2 separate regions of the Homo sapiens genome follow, and region 1 is linked to region 2. The links are contacts of gene promoters, found by promoter capture Hi-C in human tissues and cell types (Jung and others, 2019). All regions are on one chromosome and are shown on one strand. Each heading gives the region's core, a stretch centred on a gene start or on the middle of the fragment in contact. The rest is flanking DNA. Distances are from core to core; before and after follow the strand shown. Region 1 has its middle 15 kb from the start of ATP6V0E2. Region 2 holds the start of RARRES2 (retinoic acid receptor responder 2).

Evidence for each region. The method cuts DNA at HindIII sites, captures the fragments that hold promoters and counts their contacts. A contact is called where the count stands out against the background at its distance.
Region 1: a fragment that was not itself captured here is called in contact with the fragment with the promoter of RARRES2 in region 2 in 1 of the 25 tissues and cell types used here (dorsolateral prefrontal cortex).

Annotation. Positions count from the first base shown.
Region 1 is chr7:149,886,316-149,892,159 of GRCh38, forward strand. It overlaps a transcript of ACTR3C not described here. Among named protein-coding and RNA genes, the nearest start is that of ATP6V0E2, 15 kb to the left of the region's middle. The HindIII fragment of the contact is 4,672 bases long and covers 20-4,691 here.
Region 2 is chr7:150,340,074-150,346,026 of GRCh38, forward strand. It overlaps RARRES2 (retinoic acid receptor responder 2), which reads right to left and starts at 1,556. Exons shown (of 6, transcript NM_002889.4): 1 at 1,505-1,556; 2 at 363-556; 3 at 27-131. The coding sequence starts at 536. LOC107986858 (a long non-coding RNA gene) reads left to right here and starts at 1,772. Exons shown (of 3, transcript XR_001745420.3): 1 at 1,772-2,264; 2 at 3,455-3,568. RefSeq lists a silencer at 595-664. The HindIII fragment of the contact is 2,199 bases long and covers 803-3,001 here.

The DNA.
Region 1 (5,844 bases), core at 1,106-3,605, 450 kb before region 2:
TCTGCATTTTTGTGTTTCCTGTCGAATGTCTTTAATGTATAAATGTAGCATCTTCTCAGTAAAAACACAAATGCTTTTGGAGGACGGGGGGAGGAAGCAGATACTAGAATTGGCATGCTGTTTCTAAAGCCCTCTGGGAAAAACAAACATGTAAGAAATAACCAAGATATTCCTGGAAAAGCAGAGTATTGAGAGGGACACTGGCACTCCAGATACTAAAAAGTCTAAGATAAAGATACCATTTGCAAGGCTACAGAAATGCAAACAGTGGGGCTGGCACATGAACACACAGACGACTCAAGGGGAGAAAATAAGTCCAGAAATAAATTTACAATCAGGAATTAAGAATATGATAAACAGCCAGACACAGTTTCTCACACCTGTAATCCTAGCATTTTGGGAAGCCAAGGCGGGCGGATCCCTTGAGCCCAGGAGTTCGAGACCAGGCTGGGCGTCATAGTGAAACCCTGTCTCCACTAAAAATACAAAAAGTAGTCGAGTGTGTGTAGAGGTGTGAGCCTGTAGTCCCAGCTACTCAGGAAGGCGAGGTAGGGGAAATACTTGAGCCCAGGAGGTTGAGGCTACAGTGAGCAGAGATTGTGCTCCTGCATTCTGGCCTGGGCGACAGAGCGAGACTGACTCAAAAAAAAAAAAAAAATGAATATGATAAACATAGCAAACCAAATACATAAGGAAGAGATGAGTAGGGCAATGAACAGTGTCCAGAGTCCCAGCAGCAAAACACATACAAAATGGAAAGAAACTATAAATGTACTAGAAAAAAATTGGAGAATTTTTAAAATTATCATGTAATAGGGAAGGTCTATCTCAGGGGAAGAAAGAAAAAAAGAAATCCAGAGGCTATGAAGATAAAACTTTATACATTTAACTAAGTTAAAATTTACATTTTCTTCAAGGCAAAAACCATACAAGTAGATAAATGAGCAAATGACACAAAAGAATTCACAGAAGAAGACATGTAAAAGACTTTTGAGCATGAAGAGATGCTTAGTCAAGGAAAGCAAATTCAAACAGCAATGTAACCTCCTTATTACCTTATTAACCTGCTTATTACAGAGAGCGAGACTGTGATAACAGACTGTAGGTCTGTGCTGCCTGCTGCAGTGCATCTCCCCATGCTCTTGGTGCTCCCATACACGCCAGGCGCCTTCCAGGTGCCAGCACTGGCTTCCTTCCTGGGCAGCAGGCTGGACGTACCATCAGGAGTTGGTATATAAACTGGCTCCCAGAGCTGCCCATAGTGTCGCTGGCTTGCACATGTCCTGGATGGCCTACTGGGCCCAGAAAAGGTGAAATGTGAGGAGCACACTAATCACAAAATGACCCGAGCCAAGTCGAGCCAATCCTGGGCTAGACTGGCCAAACCCCATGATATGATTTGGCTGTGCCCCCACCCAAATCTCAACTTGAATTGTATCTCCCAGAATTCCCCTGTGTTGTGGGAGGGACCAGGGGAGGTAATTGAATCATGGGGGCTGGTCTTTCCCATGCTATTCTTGTGATAGTGAATACGTCTCAAGAGATCTGTTGGATTTATCAGGGATTTCTGCTTTTGCTTCTTCATTTTTCTCTTGCCGCTGCCATGTAAGAAGTGCCTTTTGCCTCCTGCCATGATTCTGAGACCTCCTCAACCTTGTGGAACTGTAAGACCAATTAAATCTTTTTTTTTCCCCCCAGTTTCAGGTGTGTCTTTATCACCAGTGTGAAAACAGACTAATACAGGCCAGCTGATGCAGACATACTAGCCAAAATTAAATGCCTGTTGTTATAAGTCAGTTTTAGGGTGTTTTGTCATGCAGCATTATTGCGGCACACCTGACTGATACAATACTGTTACATACAGATCTAGTTCATTAGTGACATACACTTTCTTTGTCCACCCCCCTATTAATGACCCCTGTGTTACTTCCAGATTAACAAATAGTAAGCATCTTTTATATGTCTTTGTGCACATTTGCTGGAACTTCTCTAGGATATATATCTAGGAGTCAAAGAGCTTTTAATATTACAAGAGATTGCCAAATTTCTCTCCAAAATGATTGTTTCAATTTACACTCAACCAACCTTGTGGCATGAGCCACAGCACCTGGATGGTAGTTGGTTTTAACTTGCATTTCCCTAATAGCTGCTAAGCTTGACTCTTCACCTGTTTATTGGACATTTCGGTTTCCACTTCTCTAATTTGCCTACTCAAATCATTGGCTTGCTTTTCTATGACTTTTTTTGGTCTTTTCCCTATTGATTTATAGAAGTTCTTTATATATTCTTGGCTACAAGTTCCCCTAATCCTAGTGAATCTAGTGCCAGGAACAGGGAAGGAAGGAGGAAGTGGGGAGAGAGGGCAAGATCAGACAGCCTCATTTCTCCTTCTGCTCTTCAAAACCATTGTTGCTGGGCGTGGTGGCTCACACCTGTAATCCCAGCACTTTGGGAGGCCAAGGCGGGTGGATCACCTGAGGTCAGGAGTTCGAGAACAGTCTGGCCAACGTGGTGAAACCCCGTCTCTACTAAAAATACAAAAAGTAGCCGGACGTGGTGGTGAGCGCCTGTAATCCCAGCTACTTGGGAGGCTGAGGCAGGAGAATCGCTTGAACCTGGGAGGCGGAGGTTGCAGTGAGCTGAGATCACGCCACTGCACTCCAGCCTGGGCGACAAGAGTGAAACTCCACCTGAAAAAAAAATAAAAAATAATAAAAAGAAATTAAAAAAAAACCATTGTTAAAAAAATGAAAAGCAAACCACAAACTGGAAGAAACTATTTGTAAAGCATATATCTGTCAAGACTTGTATCTTGAATATATAAAGAACTCATACTTAAACAACATGACAAACCTAAGTTTTAAAAGTGGGCAAATTTGAACTCTTACTTCACAAAAGAAGAACTGCAGCCCTACCTTAGATCATGCACAGAAACAAATTTCAGGAAGGTCAAAGACCTAACCCCAAAGAGCAAAATGTCAAAGTGTTTAAAGTAAATCATAAGAAAATGACTTCCTGACATCAGAAAAGGGAAAAATTTTCTAAATCAGGCTGGGAAAAGATCGCTGTGGTACATATTTATGAAAGATTGGCATCCAGATTATATAAACAACACTGACAAATTAATCTAAAAAATACAGTTGAAAAATTGGCATGTATATTCCCAGCAACTCACAAGGAGGGAAACTTGAGAGGCCAGTCAGTAGGTGAAAAATATACTTAGCCCCATTAGTAATCAGGGAAATGTACATTAAAGTCACAATGAGACATTTCATACTCATCAGATGGGCAAGTTATGTCTGCCAGCACAAAAGGCTGGAGAGGATGGGGGAAATGTAAGTAGGGGTGCAAATGGAGGCAACCCCACCCCATCTCCACAAAAAATTTTTAAAAATTAGCCAGGCTAGTGGCTTCTACCTGTGGTCCGAGCTACTCAGGAGGTTGAAGCGGGAGGATCAACTGAGTCCAGAGTCCGAGGCTGCAGTGAGCTAGGATTGTGCCACAGAACTCTAACCTGGACAACAGAGCAAGATCCCATTTCTAGAAAAATAAAATACAGAGCAAAACAGTAAAATAAAATAAACCACTGTGGATGTACAGAGAAAACAGAGTGGCCTGTGAAACGCAGTGGCCATACTTGGCAATTTCAGCTGTGAAGACACAGCCAGGGAAAAAAAATCAAAGACTGGCTTTAATATACATTAAATACATATATTCGTTATAGAGTTATTCCATATTTAATAGTTATTCCAATAACTATTAGCCTTATAGTTCAAATATTTCTTATACCAGATAATTCTTAAAAACACTTCATATCCTAACATCAGAAAGAATTTTATAATTGGATCTGGGACCATTTGACAATGTACTTGCATGAAAAAAAATCCAAACCTAAATTATGCAGGTTTAATACGCAGCTTACGTCACATGAAACTGCCCTCTATAAAGCAAGCATTCTGTACATATAATTAATTTTAACTTGATGAAAAGAGCATCTCACGGAAGAAAACATGTAATGTTGAGTAGAACCACTAGAGAACGAGGAGATATTTCTTCTCATTTATCTGTGATGTTTCATTTCATTTGAATGAAATCAGTTAAGTATATAATTAGGGCCCATAACTCAGTTCAGTTTTATTTTACAGTAACATTTAAACCCTAGAAAAAAACAACATCTTGACCTGGTTTCCTCTGCTATAAGTGGCAATAATTACAATCATCTTGCTATGTCTCAAGAAAACTAAAGTAGGCAGTTGGTTTATCCAAATCCATTCCTCCTTCTATTGTCCTTGCTTTTGGAGGCCTGTTTAGCTACTTACCCTCCTCCAGGGTCCAGAACATCAGACAAGTTCTCCTGGTCCCCACACCAAGGAGAAAGTCTTCAAGAATCTAAACCAGTCACAGTAAATCCATTCCTATTGCTCTAACCAGGTTAGGCATAGGCAGATGGGGCAAATGTGCTGGGAAGGTTTCTGGGAAAGGGTCTCTAAATTCTTAAAAAGTGCAAGGGAAATCTTCTATCTCTGTATAGAAATGTCCAAAGAGGTGATCTAGGAATTTGGCAGCCACCCTGGACCCAGGGGGAACAAACAGAAGAGCTCCAGCTAGTGCCCTAGGCTGCATGTGCAATTCCATCACTGAGCTGCTAAAACAACAGCCCTAGAGCTGCCTCACTTGGGCTTCCTGTTTGGTGAGCTAACAAGCCCCTTTTTGTTCTGAACGTTTTTATTGAGCTTTATTTTCAAAAAAGCAGCCTGATTCATGCACATATCTTTAGAAGAAATTTAAAACGCCCTAGAAAAGAATATCTTCAGTTTAAAATCTAAGCAATTTGGAATTTACAGGAATATATTCCTCTTAGTTCCAGTTACTCACCATTAAAAAATAATGGTCCTCAGGTTCAGCTCGAAGATATTTAAAAACCACTTGCTCCATGAACCTTTCCATAAGATCCCAGTCTTCAATGATTCCATGTCGTATCGGCCACTGGAGGAAGAGACACCAGAGTTGTCAAGCCTCAGTTCGCAACAATAAGAGCAACAGTTTAACAGTGGCACAGAAGAAACTGTATTATTAAGAATAAAGGTCTCCTTCTCATTGCAGTTGTTGTTAATTCTTGTAAAGAAACAACAGCATTTGGAAAAAAAAGATTAAGTTACATTATTGTTCATATTCTCCTCCACTCATTTCCACAAACAAAGAATCACCTTAACAATGACACGGAGGCAGGCCAGGCACAGTGGCTCACGCCTCTAATCCAACGCTTTGGGAGGCCAAGGCAGGAGGCTCACCCGAGCCCAGGAGTTCGAGACCAGCCTGGGCAACATAGCAAGACACTGTCTCTACAAAAAATTAAAAAATCAGCCAGGCATGGTGGTGCGTGCCTGTAGTCCCACCTACTTGGGAAGTTGAGGTGAGAGGATTGCTTGAGCTCAGGAGGTCGAGGCTGCAGTGAGCCAAGACGGCATCACAGCACTCCAGCCTGGATGACAGAGTAAGACCTATCTCTAAAAAAACAACAAAAAATACAATGAGGAACCGATAGAAAACTGCAGCTAATTATCATACAATTGGATCTGGAGCTTTAAAAAAAAAAAAGTCTGCTTAAATAACGTTAGTGTTTCTTTTTAATTAACCAATCTGCAATTTTCCCTCATCTGACAGGTTAGTCAACCTGTCAACAATTTTCCAGGGGAGGGGATCTTGCTTTCATGTGTGACCTGGTGTTTCCTGAGTCTATTCTGCATTCCAGGGATCTGTTAATTCCCTTAATTCTCCAATCAAAAATACCCCCATTCAAAACCAACCATCACCACCACCTCTATTCAAACATAAGAATTCAAA
Region 2 (5,953 bases), core at 306-2,805:
CATTGCTCTCACACCCCTTCACTCACCCCATTGGGCCTGACTTTGCACTCGGGTTTCTTCCAGTCCCTCTTCCGGCAGCTTGTCTGCTGCAGCTTAAATTCCAGCCTCACAAATATTCCAGCTGGGAAGGGCTGCGGACAGACAGGCAGGCAGAGGATGGCCGGTAGCCAGCTGAGGGTGCAGAGCAAGCCCTGGTGTGATCCGCACCTCCCTCACGCAGTCACATTCCAGCAGGCTGGACAGTGGCCTTTTCTCCAAAGGGCTGGGGCTCAGAGCCCAAGCACTTCTGTCCCCCTTCGTGGGAATGCGCTGGTCTCCTGGGGTACGACCCTCCCCGCTCCTGCCCGGGCCATGCTACTCACCGTGTCCACGGCGCTCTCCACACTGGTCTCCTGGAAGGCCCACTGCACGGGCGGGTGCTTGTGAAATTCCTCCAGGGCCACCTGCAGGCCCCGGCGCTGGGCTTCCGTGAGCTCGGCGACGCCCACGCCCACCGCACCCAGCCACAGGGCCAGAGGGATCAGCAGCCGTCGCATGCTTCCGTGTCACCCTGGCCCTGCGAAGCGGGTGTGCGCCCCTCAGCTCTCCGAGCCAGCCCGAGCCGCCTCCTCCCGCGCCCTGCTCTGGGGGGAGGGTGGGGAGCGGGGGCGGGGTCCAGGCCTGTAGAACGCTGGGCACAGGTGAAGGAGCCTGGAAATGGCCCTTTCTCCAAATTGACCTTAGGGTCCGCCTGGCCCTCTCCGTTCCCTCCCACCCTGCCCGCGCTGTTCCCTGGGGCCTGCAGTTTTAGCAAAGTTCCCTGCCCACGCTAGGAATCAGTCAGTTCGCACTCCCACCCTACACCCCTAATCTTGCCCATTGTGTCTCTCCCTGGGTCTCCGGCACGACCCACTCTCCTCCCTGCCGTCCCCGGAGCCCCTCTCTCCTTTCCCCGCTCAGCCTTCTCCCCAACCGCTACTCCCTCCCCGTCCAGAATCCCCCTGCTCCCACGGGGTTCCCCCCACGTCCCCGAGGTCCAGGCCAGCCGGGGGAAGGGGCAGGGGCCGGAGGCCGAATACTTTTGGGAGGACCTAAACACGTGGGAGGGTCCGGACGGGTGGGAGCGGCGGGAGGCCTAATCCTCCCGGCGCGGGGGCTGCCGCGGGCCACCAGCCAGCCCCAGTCGCTAGGAATGGGGGTCTCGCGCCGCCCAGCCCTTGGCTTTCCCGCTTCAGGCAAAATCTTCCCTCCTTCCTCTTTTTTCTGGGGCCTTCCCCACGACCCCTCTTCCTAGCCCTTCTGATCCGTCCCCTGATGCATGACTGGGGCCACCGGAGGGGCTGACCCTCCCGGAGAGCCCCGTCGGTCCTGGTGGTCTTGGGACCGGAGAGCGACAGATGTGGAAACCGAGGCCCCTCAGTGAAGAGCTGCCAGGGTGGTCGCCTTAGAGCAAAGGCGTTCCTCATTCCGCCTGCGCAGCTGCCCCTCCGCCCGGCTGCCGCCCCAGCCCGCTTCCCCTCCTCACGTCCTTCCCTGCGCCTGGAGGTCTCCCCTGACCGTCCCGCAGCTGAAATCTTGGCCTCGCTGTCCGCCTCTTCCCGCTCTTCTTCTCGCGGGGCGGCCCCCACCTCCTCCCACCCCCACCTCCTGGACCCCCTCCAGCAACTCTGGCTCCTCCCCTCCCCAGTGGGACCGGCCTCTGGGGCGGGATGCCCTCCCGCGCCCTCCCTCCCCATCCCACCCCCCTCCTTCCCCTCGATCCAGCCCTCATGACCCTGACCCTGGCCGCGGCTGCAGGCGGCTCGCCCAGGCGCGCAGCCCTCGGTCCCACCTCCCTCTGGCTCGGGCCTGAGCATTCCGCAGCCTCGGCCGGCCCGGGCCTCTTCTCCGCTGCTCTGCTCCCCCAAGGACTTTCTGTGCCCCACTCCTACCCAGGCAGGGCTGCCCTGTCTTGGGTCCTTTACGGGGGACCATTCCCCAGCGTCCCTGAGACACTCATCCTGGGATTTCTTCCCCTAAATACAGACATTCTCAAACCAAATGAGACCTCGAGGTCCCTACACCTGATCCTGCCTCCCACTCCCTGAGCCACACTGAGAAGGAAGGTCTCTCCTTTAGGGAGGACTCTGGCGCCTGCAACCTTGATCGACAGCAAAGATGTCCAGTGTGTATCCTGCATCTGCCTTTCCTGACCATTCCTCGTGCCCCATTCTCCGTGGGATAGATTCTCATGGGGAGTGGGGGAGCCTTCGGGTGTGGCAGAACGGCATGATGGAATTCATAAGGTGAGCAGAAACTCAAGGAAAACTGTCCAAATACCGGCTCGACTCCTGGGTACGCTGGAGCAAGGATGAAGAAGCTCTGAGACTTTGCACGTCAGTAACCACCAACACCATGCCTCTGGTTCCCACACCGCAGGGATCACCTGAAGTAGAGGATCTCATGTAACTTCATGGCTCTCTCTGAACTTCTGTTTCTTTATCTGTAAGATGGGGATCAGAAACTCTGTCTTAAGGAGTTGTTTTGAGGATTAAATGAAGAAACATGAAAAGCAACTGATGTCCAGTGCCGAGCACAAGGCTTTTGTCCCCTACTTACGCACCCCTAACCAGGATTCTCCACTTAGAGCTGAGAATTTCCTTTACAGTGTGCTCTGGGGGCACCAGAAAGAAACTCGGCTTCCATTAACCACTTCCAGGTGTCTGAAATCCCACCACTACTTAGGGTACTTCACTCCCCAGCTGTGAGCTACTCAGCCGCCCTTAAGCAGAAAGAGATGGGATCCGTGTTCCCTGAAAGCTTTAGATGGGGTTAGAGAGAAAAGATGCACCCAAAGATGTTTCCCAGCCCAAGAACTTGAAGGAAACCAAAATATTTCACCCCAAAAAATACTTCTTTGACACATTTCAAGGTGGCTGTTCAGAATGGTTGGAAATAGAATAACCAAAAAGCTGTCTTTTTGTGGAGAGATTTGCATCTGTAGAGGAAATCTGCATTGATGTAGCCAGGCTTTCTCCGAGGCTCTCCCTTGTCTAACTCTAGGAAAGATTAACTGAGAGGCTGACACCTTTACAGATCTGAAAGAAACATTTACCCTCAGTTCTTTCTGAGGGCTGCTACCTGTGAGGTGTCATCTACCTAACAAGACTCCCTTTGCCAACCAGGCCTCCTCTTCCCTCCCTTCCATAACCTGTCTTGCCACTATCTGAGCCCCCATATTTGTATAAACTCAAGATGGTGGATAAGCTTCTGTATCCCACTGAGGGGTTGGGGTAATCACTTTGTGGTTCTCTCTCATGTATGTTAATAAATATTTCCTGTTAAAGCCGAGGCAGGAGGATTGCTTGAGCCCAGGAGTTCAAAGGTGCAGTGAGCTCTGATCATGAAACTGTACTTCAGCCTCTCTGGACAGAGCAAGACCTTGTCTCTAAAATATAAATGAATCAATTTATTCTATTAATCTGCCTTTCATCAGTTGATTTTTCAGCAAACCTTCAGAAGGCAAAGGGGAAGTTTTCCTTTGGCCCCCACAGACCCATGCTGGGGGACGTCCTGAGGATGGGTGAGGAGAGAAATCTTCCAGGACAAGGTAGGACTTGAGCTGAGCAAAGCGGGAAACTCATCCTGACTTTGGTGGGGGCTGGGGGGAAAGTTGCATCAGGTCTGTTGCAGGGGAGGTGAGGCAGTTGAGGTGGGGAGGTAGGTTGGGAGCAGGGTGGTGGGAGTTGGTGAGGAAGGAGCCAGTCTGGCTATACTTAAATGGCCACACAAAATTCACTTTGGGTGTAGGTATGTGAGGTGCACCCCAAAGAGGTGGACAGTCCTACTGCAGAGCACTCATAGGTGTGGATGTGTGAAAGGACTACTTAGGGCATATTCATGAGCTCAGCTCCAGGTAACATGTCCCAGTCCAGGGGAGCAACAACAGGACTTCACTATTTAATGATGGTTAATGATCTTCCTGGTCATGACAGCTAAAAAAGTAGACTCACGTATCCAGTTGTTCCAAGCTTAGTTTTCCAATAACTGAACTGAGTACCAAAAAACATTGTCCTTTAATATTTGCAACCACATTGACAAAAATAGTTTTTTTTAGAAGAAGTGATTTGACTTTGAAGTAAGAGCATATCAGTTGCAAAACTACACCTATTGAAGTTAAGTACATTTTCCAACTTGTGTCAATTCGGTACCATTAGCATAAATTCAAAAATGATATTGCATAAATTCAAAAGCCATTCTAAATTTATCAATATCAACTAAGAATTCTTCACATTTTTCTTGAAATTTTGCCAATTTACACAATGCTGTATATTACAATTAAAACCTCTGTATGTTGATTCTTGTGACAAAAGTATGTAGATTGTAATTATTTGTCAGTATTATGAAAATATTTAATTTGAAATGCTTATATTTATCTGGCTAGGTCACAAATGAGGTTTCATCTCCTTGGATATTCAAATTTAGCCCATTTATATGTAGTGTGGTATTGGTGAGAAAACACTGACTTTTTTATTTTTAATTATTGAATATTTGGGTTGAGAGTAGTGACTCATGCCTGTAATCCTAGCACTTTGGGAGTCCAAGGTGGGTGGATCACTGAACCCAGGAGTTCAAGACCAGCCTGGGCAATATAGAGAGAGGCTATCTTTACAAAAAAAAAAAAGTTTAATTAGCTGAGTGTGGTGGCAAAAGTCTGTAGTCCTGGCTACTCAGGAGGCTGGCGGGGGACGATCACTTGAGCCTGGGAAGTCAAGGTTGCAGTGAGCTATGATCATGCCACTACATGACCCTCCCACCTCAGCCTCCCAAAGTGTTGGGATTATAGGCTCAAGCCACCACTCTCAGACTTGGCCACAGAGCAAAACCTTGTCCCCAAAACAAATAATAATAATACTTATTGTTGTATATTTGGTAATCATGGCTTCTGTCTCAAGAAAATCTTGGAGTTAGTTAAAAGTACAGTAAATCTTAGGAGAACTCTTCTACAACCCTGACAATGAGCTTTGGTAAAGAAAAGATCATTAAATTCATTATCTTTCATTGCTTTCAACAGTTCCATAAAACCAGCAGTGATTCATAGCATTTCCACTTAAATACGGAATTAGTTTTAATGGCTGTAGCCATGAGACTTGCATAGAATAAATTTCAGAAAACTGAGCACAAATATCTTCAATATGTACCCTAAAGTGAAATGAAGCAACATTGGAAGCATCAATCTCTTGTTTTAGCATTCCAATAAATACCTCAGTCACACCAGCCACATGGCAAGTGTTCCTAAACCTGTGGCTGGTGGCTACCATATTGGATATTGCAGGCAGAGCATGTGTTACCAATTATGTGAGTAAAAACTAAAACTAAAAATGAACAAATTTTTGTGTTTGTAAATGCATGGAATATTTCTAGAAGGGAAAAACAAGAAACTTATAACAGTGTTTGCCTGTGAGGAGAGGATCTGTCCAGCTGGGGAAAACAGAGGCAGGAAAACTGTACTCCCTTTGTACTTTTAAATTTTTATAACTTGTGGATAATTTGTCTATTAAAATATAAAAAAACTTTAAAAACTATTTTTTGAGACAGGGTCTTGCTCTGTCGTTCAAGCTGGAGAGCAGTGGCTCAATCATGGCTCACTGCAGCCTCAACCTCCTGTGCTCAAGCGATCCTCCCACCTCAGCCTCCCAAGTAGCTTGGACCACAGGTGCATGCCATCATCCTAGGCTAATTTTTGTATTTTTTTCTAGAGACAGGATTTTGTCACATTGCCCAGGCTGATCTCAAACTTCTAGGTTCAGCAATCCACCCACCTTGGACTCTCAAAGTGCTGAAATTACAGGCTTGAGCCACTGTGCTTGGCCTTAATACTTTTAAAATCAGAAAGCAAAGCAACAGCTTTTCTTTTGTCTTCTTTTCTTTTCTCTTTTTTTGAGACAAAGTCTTATTCTGTTGCCCAGGCTGGAGTGCAATGGCATAATCAGAG